2 separate regions of the Homo sapiens genome follow, and region 2 is linked to region 1. Evidence: promoter capture Hi-C in 16 types of primary human blood cells and fetal thymus (Javierre and others, 2016). All regions are on one chromosome and are shown on one strand. The core of a region is centred on a gene start or on the middle of the fragment in contact, and the rest is flanking DNA. Distances in the headings are between cores, read along the strand shown. Region 1 holds the start of TNS2 (tensin 2). Region 2 overlaps ZNF740 (zinc finger protein 740).

The links. The method cuts DNA at HindIII sites, captures the fragments that hold promoters and counts their contacts. A CHiCAGO score of 5 or more calls a contact.
Region 2: a contact is called between a fragment that was not itself captured here and the fragment with the promoter of TNS2 in region 1, in 2 of 17 cell types (M0 macrophages and M1 macrophages). The highest score is 7.0, in M0 macrophages.

Annotation. Positions count from the first base shown.
Region 1 is chr12:53,047,768-53,052,573 of GRCh38, forward strand. TNS2 (tensin 2) reads left to right here and starts at 2,298. Exons shown (of 29, transcript NM_170754.4): 1 at 2,298-2,493; 2 at 4,088-4,196; 3 at 4,688-4,725. The coding sequence starts at 2,419. The region is part of intron 2 of TNS2-AS1 (TNS2 antisense RNA 1); the gene reads right to left. RefSeq lists a silencer at 1-156 and enhancers at 1-458, 459-1,302. The HindIII fragment of the contact is 14,276 bases long and covers 1-4,806 here.
Region 2 is chr12:53,186,536-53,191,872 of GRCh38, forward strand. ZNF740 (zinc finger protein 740) reads left to right here. Exons shown (of 7, transcript NM_001004304.4): 7 at 966-5,337. The coding sequence ends at 1,055. It overlaps ITGB7 (integrin subunit beta 7), which reads right to left. Exons shown (of 16, transcript NM_000889.3): 15 at 5,324-5,337; 16 at 4,788-5,101. The coding sequence ends at 5,021. Among named protein-coding and RNA genes, the nearest start is that of CSAD, 8.3 kb to the left of the region's middle. RefSeq lists a silencer at 3,550-3,844. The HindIII fragment of the contact is 3,821 bases long and covers 530-4,350 here.

The DNA of each region.
Region 1 (4,806 bases), core at 1,048-3,547:
TAAGCGGGCACAGATGAGGCTGATTCGACTCGCCAGCCCCGCTCTGCGGCCCCCTCCAGTCTGCCCCCATCCTCCAGACCCTTCTGGGAACACCCCCAGAGCCGCCGCCCTCCCTCGCTCCTTCCCTGGGCCTTACCCCTCCTCCGCGGCGGCCGGGCTCCCAGCCTCCCTTCCAACCACAGCTATTTCCAGAAAGGGGGGTGTGGGTGGAGGGGTTTCTCCAAACAAACCCAAGACTTCGGAGAGAGAGGGGGCCCGGCTGGGGGAGAGGTTGACAGGCTCTGGAATGTTACAGGCGGGAGGAGGGTGAGGGTCCAAGAGGGTCTAGTGATGCCTTCCCAGCCCTCCTCAAGTGAGCTACTTTTCCCCTCGGGACTGGCTCATAGGGATCCCATCCCTGCTTCCCTTCCGAGGTGCGAGTGCCACAGGATGGGAGGGACTCACAGCCACAGTGGATCCTGACCACCCCACCCCTCACCGAGCTCACTGCTTGGGCACCTCCTTGCTGGGTCTGGGTGGGGAGTGTGAGACCAGTGAAGGTGAGAGGATGTCTGGGGACCTGTTCCAGGTGAGGGGACTTTCAGCCCCTATGGAGGCAGCAGGAGAGTGAAGCATGTAGAGGAGTCCTGGTCAGGGCCATGTGCCATAGGAGCAGAAGCTGGGACTGGACAGAAAAAAGCCACCCCCACTGCCCACCTTGTCACACTGCCCCATCTCCCCCAAGCAGGGCTGGGGGCTCGACAAGGCCAGGCCCGGTTGCCCACACTGGCCGGGGGCCTGGAATGTGCTGGGACACAGCCAGGCTGGCAGGATGGGGGTGGGTCACAGAGCCCGTGCTCCTCTCCAGTTACAGGCAGGGAGCCCAGGCCTGCCACACAGATGCCACCTTCTGGCCAGGATATCCTGGGGACACATTTCTTGGCCTGGAAAATTGGAGCTTCCAGGGAGAGGTGTCAGGCTAGGCCCAATCCAGTCAGGTCCTCGCAAGGGTCTCAAGTGGGCACCCACAGCAGGCCTCACCCCAGAGAATGCAGGATTCTTCATCCCAGGGAACCCATCCTGGTGGATATGAAGGAGCAGGAAGCAAGTAGAAGGGACTCCGTGGGAGAAGCCAGGGCTGGGGGAGTTGCCTGAGTACTGGGACATTCAATAAATACCATGCAAATGAGAGGGGCACATTTGCACATTCTTTCAAGTGACAGCTATAGCCTGTCCCAGGGGCTGCTGTCCACAGCTTGGGGCTGAAGACTCCCAGGCCATTAACCCCTTAGCTTTTAGGAAGATTACTCCCCCTTTTTCAAGGCCCCATCCACCTCCCTCCCTTGACTCCCAGGACGGGAAGTTGGCCATGTTCCCAGGAGGGAGGCCGGAGGCCCATGGATGGGGGTGGAGTATGTGTTGGGAGGGGGGACCTCCTGTCCAGTCCTCAGGCCCTGGGACAGCTGCTGAGGAAGGAGAGCAGACCCAGGAGAGCCATGAAGGTAGTACTCAGGCTTCGGGGTTGCCGCGGGGGGAGGGTGCAGCCCTTGGGTAGAGAGCCCAAGTTGCAGGGCTGGAAAGAGGGCTAGGGATCTGTGAGATCATGTCTGAAACAAAGCCAGGGAATGGGTGAGTGGGGGGCACTGTGTCAGGAGCAGAAACCTGGGGGCTTTCAGGAGAAGGGCCTCATATGCCTTAGGCTGTGGCAGGAGAATGGATTACTCCCCAAACCTGAGCAAAGCAGTCTTGTGGCTGGAACTTGGCCTTGCAAGGTGTATTGAGGGTAAAGGTGGGCGGTGCATGCTTTCCTTTTCCTACTTCATAACGAGTGAAACTGAGACAGGAAGGGGGCCCCCAGTCCCATTTTTACCTGACTCTCAGGACACACTCGGGATCCTGGGCCTGCCTGCTGGTAGTAGTTCCCAGCTCCACTCCCTCCCCAGCGGAAGTCCCTCGAGAGCTTGAGAGTTCAGGCTGGAGCCTGGCTGGGACACACTGTTCCCCACTTGCCCTTTAGCCCTGCCCCGAGACCAGAATTCTCACCCGGCCCCACCGGGGGTGGGGGCAGAATCTCAAGACCATGGATCCCTGCAGATCCCTGGAGAGTGTGGTGTCCCAGGTGTGGGACAACTCCAGAGTTGGGGGAGTAGGGGGAGCAAAAGATCACAGGCTGACACTCCCAGCAGGGTAGATCCTGGGAATCTGATCTCCTGGCCTCCCCCACATCCTCCCCCCTCCACTTCCTGGAGCAGCGACCTGCCCCCTTCCCGCCTGCACTTCCCTCCACTTCCAGGGCCGGGCTTCTCCTCACACCAGCCAGACAGCCTACCCTCCGCCCAGGGGAAGCGGCTGCCTCCGCCAGGCCGCTTCCAGGAAGCCCCGGGCCAGGCCCCAGCATTGTTCAGGCCCTGGGGCCAGCACCCCAGCCAGCCGAACACCATGAAGTCCAGCGGCCCTGTGGAGAGGCTGCTCAGAGCCCTGGGGAGGAGGGACAGCAGCCGGGCCGCAAGCAGGGTAGGAGTGCCCACCAGCTGGGCAAAAGAGGGGCAGGGGTGGAGGTGCGGGCAGTGGGGGAGGGGACCAGGAATCAGGCCAGGCCTTCTTCCCAATTTCAGCTTCCTCAGCCTTCTTCCCTGGCCCAGCATCCCCTCCGGAGTGGCCAGGGCTGTAGTGTGAGGGGATGTTTGGGTTAGAGTAGGTCCTGCTGTCTGTTTTGGCTCCTCTCACCTTCCCTGCTCTAGCCTGGGCCAACCCCAGGAGGTCCTGGCCCCCCAACATAAGCCCCAGGTGCCTCACTGCAGGACTTTGCCATGCGCTATCCAGGTATCCTCCAGCAGGCTCAGAGATCATCAGGCCCCTTCCCTGGCCCAGGGAAGTTTGAGGGAAATGGGGTGGCAGGGTGGAAAAAGAGAGAGGAGAGGGAGTCAGGAGTGCTTTGGAACTGGAGGTTTGCTTTCCACTGACAACATCCATATCTGCTGCTAATGCCAACATGCTCCCAAGTGTCTTAGTGGGTCCCACAAAGTTGATCCAGCCCAGAAGAGTTGCAGGGACAGTCAAGAAACCAGAGGTGCTGCCCACATCCCCATCACTCCCTTTCCCAACTTCCCAGCCTTGCCCCAAAAGCAGCAGCTCAGGACAACCTGAGATACTACTGTGATGGGTCCCCGGGAGGAGGACAGCAGGAGTCTGAACTCCAGAGGAGGGGGAATATGGGTAAAACAGAGAGATGGCAAGGAGACAAGCTGTCCCCAGACAGAGGATGGGAGGAGAGAACCCACAGTGGGAGGGGAAGGGACTGAGATAGGCCTGGGCCATAAGGGGGCATCCCAGGCTCCTGCCTCACTGCATCTCTGGGTCAGGAGGGGCTGAACAGGGAATCTGGTCCACTCCTTTCTCATTCAATGCGTGAATCCCAAGTGCCAGGGTGCAGGGGGTCGGGGGAGAACTCACAGCATCCAAAGCCAGCTAAACATCTCTCCCCAGTGACAGGCTTCTATCTGTTTCCCTCCAGCATGACCACCCCCATTACACAATTGCTGTCTGCTGCCTCAGTGCACAATGAGTAAACATGTTGTTCTGACCGTGGGGGAGGAGGGCATGTCAGCTGCCTGGAGCGTGGGGACAGCAGGAGCTAAAGGAGCAGGACTGGCTGAGGCCACTCCTGCCGGCTCAGTCTGGTGCTGCAGGACTGACATACAACACATATGTTTGGAACCTCCCTGCTCACTCTGCACACAGGTCTCCATGCGGGGAGGACAAGATGGGAAGAGTCAGGGAGTACCCTTACCACACCAGGGGGAAAGCCTGAGCATGGAGGCTTTTCCACAAGGGCATCACACACCAGGGCCATGTGAGGGGCCCAAGTGATCCCCTGGGGAGGAGCTGACCCAGCAAAGGTGACGCAAGGGGTCAGATTCCATGCACAGTTGAGGACAGGCCCCATGACCGCCCTGAAGCAGCTGTGGCCAAGTGCGTCCTACAAGTTTGAGGGCTTGATCTGGACGGAGAAAACCAGTGCAGTGCTAAGGCAAGGCTCCTGCCCAGTCCCGGAGATGGAGATGGGCCCACTGGGAACTCACACCTCTGTTTGTCCCTCCACCTTCAGCCTAGGAAAGCTGAGCCTCATAGCTTCCGGGAGAAGGTTTTCCGGAAGAAACCTCCAGTCTGTGCAGTATGTAAGGTGACCATCGATGGGACAGGCGTTTCGTGCAGAGGTGAGGCTCTCTGTCCTGTGACTCTGAGACCCTCCACCCAGTACCACTGTGTTGCACAACTCCAGCAGGCCAGCTCACACAATCTCAAATGTAATATGCTGCTCCTGGATTAGGCACAATGGCAGCTAAGAAGCAGCTGCCTCCCCCTTCAGATGGCCCTGGCTCCCCATGACAGACACCTCCCATAACCCAGGAGAGCCAGTACTCTCCATCACCTTCCCATCCTGACTTGTGACGGTAGTCTTCCTTCCCTCTCTTCCTCCTCACCTCCACCCACCCTGGAACGTTACCCCTGGCCTGGGCAGTAGTACCCCACTGCCACACTCTTCCCTCAAAACCTAGCCCTGCTCCTCTGCCCCAGCCAGCCCAGTCCAGGTGGGATCTTGGAAGTCCCAGGGTCTGGTTCCAGGGTCTGGGAGATGAGGGAAGGCCATTCCTTCCACTGTCCCACAGGCCCCTGCTAACCCCTCTCCTCCCCTTACCTTCCCTAGTCTGCAAGGTGGCGACGCACAGAAAATGTGAAGCAAAGGTGGGTATCTGATTCTACCTGATAGGGGGAGAGGGTCTGGAGTCCCTTCCTCCTCCCAAACAGGCTTCTGCAACCACACTG
Region 2 (5,337 bases), core at 1,190-3,689, 140 kb after region 1:
CCACACACACTTTTCCTTCCCCAAGAATCAGGGCCACCCTCCACTCCTGCCTGACAAAAGAGCCACCAGCGTTACTCGCCATAATAGTTAACACATCGGGGTGAAGTGCATCTGTCTGGCCTTATGCAGCTGATCATGGGGAGCAGCAATTAGAACATTGTAATAATAATAATAATAGCATTCCATATCACTTACTCTATGCCAGGCACTGTGAGAGCATACTTTACATAGATGATTTTATTTAATCCTCACATTGACTCCCTAAGGTAGCTGTATTGTCCTTATTTCACGTATGGGAAAATTGAGATTCAGAGAAGTTAAGTTTCCCAGGGACACCGCAGATCACGAACAGAGCTGGGATTCAGTCCAACTTCAGAGCTAATGCACTTTGGAGGAAGAGATACAATCTTTGCCCTGGGGGTCAGTATCTGATCTGATGAGAATGTAAGAGCTGGGGCCAAAACAAGACAAGAACAAGAGATGAGAAATGATAATAGCTAACACTTCCTGGATGCATTGCTAGGTCCCAAGCTTTGCTCTGCACTCTTACACTGAATCTTCAGACGCTAGAATAAAAGCTCCATGAGGGCAGAGACTTTGTTCCTCTGGTTCTCTACTCTGTATCTGCCTTGAGATAGATACTCAATAAATCTTTGATGAATAAAGCAGCTGTGCTGTGAGTAGGTACTTTTAGCCTCGCTTTGCAGTTTTGCAGATGAGTATGCAGATTCTGGGCTGTTAGGTAACTTGCCCAAGGTCACACAGCTGCTGAGTGATAGAGCCAAGATTCAGCCCCAGGCGGTCTGGCCTGAGAGCTTGGATTCTCCACCACCGTGTGCTCCTGCTGTCTGTGCACGTGCTGAGGGGATGGAGAATGTGGTATCTGCCTCCTGTGAGAGGAATGAGTTAGCCAACAGGTAGCTGCGTTTGTCTGCTCAGGCACTTAACCCTCCCTTTCTTCTCAGTGTTTTTCTCGGACAGATCGATTACTCAGACACAAACGGATGTGCCAAGGGTGCCAGTCCAAGACTTCCGACGGGCAGTTTTCTCTATAGGCGCAAGGGGCCCCGGGTGGTGGGAGTGATCAGAAGAACCTGCCGAAGAGCACACCCCCTCTGGTCTGATGGTCCCACCACCGCCCCATGTGAACCTGTCCCACTCCTGGAGGAGTGGACCCAGGAGACCAGAAGAGTGCATCAGGGGACAGTGGCCCCAGAACCTCAGCTCTGTAAATAATCTGAGACTATGAGTATCTCGGGGAAGTTCTTACAGCATTCCTGGGTAGGGGAGCTAGTCCCTGGACCCTTGGCTGAGGTCATAGGTGGGGACTCAAGGTACAGGACCAAGACTGAAGTGTGGCTCCCACAACCTTGGACTCCAGCTGGCAGCTGAAATGGAAAAGATTGGGGAAGGGGATTTGTTTGTTCTGTTCTTGTTTTTGTTTATCCAAAAGCAACTTCAGCGGGTAAACTGTGGATACAGGTAATCCAGAGGCATAAGAGTCCTGGTCCAAAGTAGGGACTATAGCTGGTCCAGCTCTCCCCAAAAATTGGGTTTTTAGTTGCAGTAGCTCCTCAGTGTTTCACAATCCTGCACTTCGCCTCCTTTTTGAGGAAGAATAAGGTCAGGAATGGCAGCTGAGCTTACTTTGGCTTCCTTATACACTGTAGGGACAAAAGGAAAAACGGGGTGGAGCAGACAAGGGCTGGATCCAAAAAGTGGATGGCACCTCTTCCTTCCTCAAGGGAAAAGGAAGAGTTGTGCCAGTGGGTGTTGTCATGGCCCATGTCACATTGGCACCTGATGGCATCAGCTCAAATGCCTTTAGGAGGAAACTTGGGTGAGAGTGGCCCATGAAGCCCTTTTCTTCTTTTTTTGGGGAGTCGGTCTTGGAGATGGTATGTGGCTACCTCGCTGCCATTGACTCCTAAAGTGAGACAGATGTGTTGAGCAAGGAGTCATGGAAGTCAAAGTGGGTTCTCTCTCCTTGTGCCCTCTTAGGAACAACCCAAGACTGGTCCCAAGTTGGCTAACAGCTGCTCAAGAAACAAAGGAATCTGGGGTCTTCTGACATGCCTGTTGAGCAGTAGGAGCTGTTCTCCCTCCCCAAGTCCTATCACTGTATTCAGGTAGAGGAGGTAGGGAGGGGTCTGTCCTTTGGTCCCAAAAAACAAGATCTCGGCTTGCTTCCTGATGGCCATCCCTACCCAACAGAGTGTGGGGGATGGGGGTGGGGGTGCTGCAGAGAAAAGACTAAAGAAGAAACCTAATGTAGGTTCCATTCTTAACCATATTCTTTGCTCCTCTCTGCTCCAATACCACCACCTTGTCCACTCCCAAAAAAGTAATCGGGTGTGTGTGTGTGTGTGAGAGAGAGTGTGTGTGAGATATGAATGCATGTATTTGTATGCTTGCAGGAGATGGCATATTATTGAGCCAAACCCTTCTCTGGCCCTCACCTTCAGGGAGGATGAGTGGAAAATAGCCTCCTCTTGCCCAAACATGAAGGGTGCTTGAGGTCTCAGCAGGAGCTGAAGAACACAATTTGGGGAACAGAAGGGCTTTTGTTTTGGAGGGTTTTTTTTTTTAAGATGAATTCAACAGCCTGGTGGTTAGGATGTTTCTAACCCAAGCCAGGGCTTGTGAACATGAATTTTCTAAGGTGAAATAAACCTTTTCTTTCTGCTAAAGAAAGAATCCTTATGGGAAGTTTTGGGGTTTGGTTGACCCCCACTGTAACCTGACCTGACCTGTGGCGGGTACGGGAACTGTCTTAGTAATCATGGAGACTGGCTGAACCTGAGTGCCAAGCTGTCAGTAGGGTCTGAGATGGGAAACTCCTGAAAGTATGATTTCATTTCCCAGAAAATGTAAAGAATGGATACCAGCAATGATTCCTGGCTGTTACCTATTCTGGAGGGGTGGGGTTGGGGAGGGGGTTGTCCATACCTCTGTGGTATGAGTATTTCAGGGAAAAAGAAAGCAGGCATGGCACCCATTCGATTTTCCCTGACAGCATCTGAGATCCTTTTGGGGAGACGCTGAGGAGTGTTTGCTGCCATGTACTCTTACAGCTCTATGCTGACACTCCCATTTGATGTGGTCCAGAACTTAGACCTCAGTCCTTGGATCAGCCCTGTGGTCCCTGCAAGCAGGGGCATCTTTCTGCATGTGAGCCAGCCCCCTTCCTGTTCAAGGGTTCTGCTGGATCTGGGCTTTTCCTGTCCTTCACTTCTGGGATGATTCACCCCACATCTTCCAGTACCCTGTAAACCATTTTAAAATATTTAGAAAACTATCCTCCCAAAAATGCTTTTGAAAATGAGAGCCCTCTGTCCCTGCCACTTACAGCTAGTCTCTTTGGGATAGGGGTGTATGTGGAGAGATTCATGTAAGTCTCACATGAGTGACCTGTGCCCCTATGTGTACTAATGTGTGTACTGGGTCAGAAGGTGCCCTGGGTTCCCACAGACCTTGGTTTCCTGCCTGGGTGGGTGGGAGGGAGGGAACTTCAGAGAGTATGTGCGAACAGCCATAGCAGAGCCACCCCTGCCAAGGACCCAGTGAGGGAAACTCAGGAGCAGGTGGTTGGTTCAGTTCCCGCGCTGATGTCTGGGGCAGTGCATGTGTGAGAAGAGAGGCGCAAAGCAGTGAAAGGAGTGATTTGGCATCCAGAGGGCCCGGGAGCCCCACGGATACCCCAGGGAAGCCACTGACTCACACCGCTGCAGAGGCTCCTGGGCCCAATGCCCGACCCCTGCTGGCCAGCATGGGGCCTAGCACTGGAAGATGCCTCAGGTGTGTTTGGAGTGGGGGAAACGGAAGTAGGGCACGCTCTCAGAGACCAGGATAGAGAGTCAGGGAACCTGGGAAAGAGTAGTGCCAGTTCCGGGTAGGCTGCTGCACCAGGCCCTACCAGCTCAGGCTATAAACAGTCTGCTTTGCCCCAAGTCTTTTCCGTCCACCCCCAACAGCCTTGTCATCACTTAGCTACTGATCACGCCCATGGCTTGACATTGGAGGGTTACATTAGTGGAGTCCGCCACAGCTTCGAACCCTCTCCCCAGATGCCCTTTGCCTCTGCTGTGGCCCTGGGGTTTTATCAACTGTCCCCTTCCTATCCTCCTCTCCACCCTGTTTTTTGTTTTTTTTTTTTTTAAATAATATTTTGCTATGGGGGAGGGGAATATCAAATGGACAAGATCACTTTTAAATGGTAGTTTTTATAAGATGTTATAAACTTGTATCTTTTTACCATTAAAGTGCAGTGTATGTTCCTTCGTGATATATTTAGGATATTTAAATAAAAGGAAAATGGGGCTTTTCTACATACTATCTCCTCTTTGGGGAAGCTTTTTCATACTGGTTTTAGTTGTTTTCCTTTTTTCTCCCTACATAATCACCCCACAACTTCCAGCACCCTATAAGCCATTTTAAAACCCCTTCTCCACAGAGGAACAAGCAAGTAGGAGCAAAAACAGGGCATCAGTTCTGAGCAAGACGAAAAAGCACACGCAGCAGGACGGAAGGAGGCTAGACACCAACAGATGCAGTGTCTCTGACCTGGGACCCCCCTGCATCCGCAGCACTTGAGAATTCATAGGCCCTTTCCAGACCTGGCTTCCTGGGTCCCAGGGTGCACCCCGGGAGTTTCCTGCACATTCGCGCTTGGGCACCTCTCCCTGCCCTCAGGTGGCAAGAGGAGGATGGACAAGAGCTTTCCCGAGGCCCAGGCTATAAACAGTCTGCTTTGGCCTTGATGAGGTAAAGCAAAGTGACAGCTGTGGTCTGAGGTAAGACTTTATTGTATACTTGGGTGGGGTAGCCCAGATGGATGCAAGGTTGCAGGCATGGGAAGCAGCCCTCTTGGGTGTCACTCTGAAAATGAAGTAGGGTGGTGGCCGCACCTCGCCAGTGAATTAGTCCCCTACCAAGGTCTTACAGACCCACCCTTCCTCTCACCCTCCAGTTCCCACTGTCCTCCAAGGAGAAGAGCCTTGGGTAAGTGTCCCTCCCTCCTTCAGAGAGTGGGACTGTCTGCCTCTTGAAAGCGAGGATTGATGGTGGTCGTGATGGCACTTTTGTAGAGAGGATTACTGTCCTGGAGAAAGATGTTGCAGATTATAAGCAAAAATCCCAGGATTCCTCGTCCCCTTTCTAGACCTAAGAGGCCAGCCTTGAGCCGAATCCTAGGAGCTGATGGAAGTTAGCAGAGGGGTTGGTTACATGTGCCAGGGGCTGGGGGAACCCAGTGGGAGGAATCAGGGCTGGTCTTGTGGTGGGGGAACAGCTAAAAAGGGGCCTAACCAGGAAGTCTCCTCACCTGCTTCCAGTTGA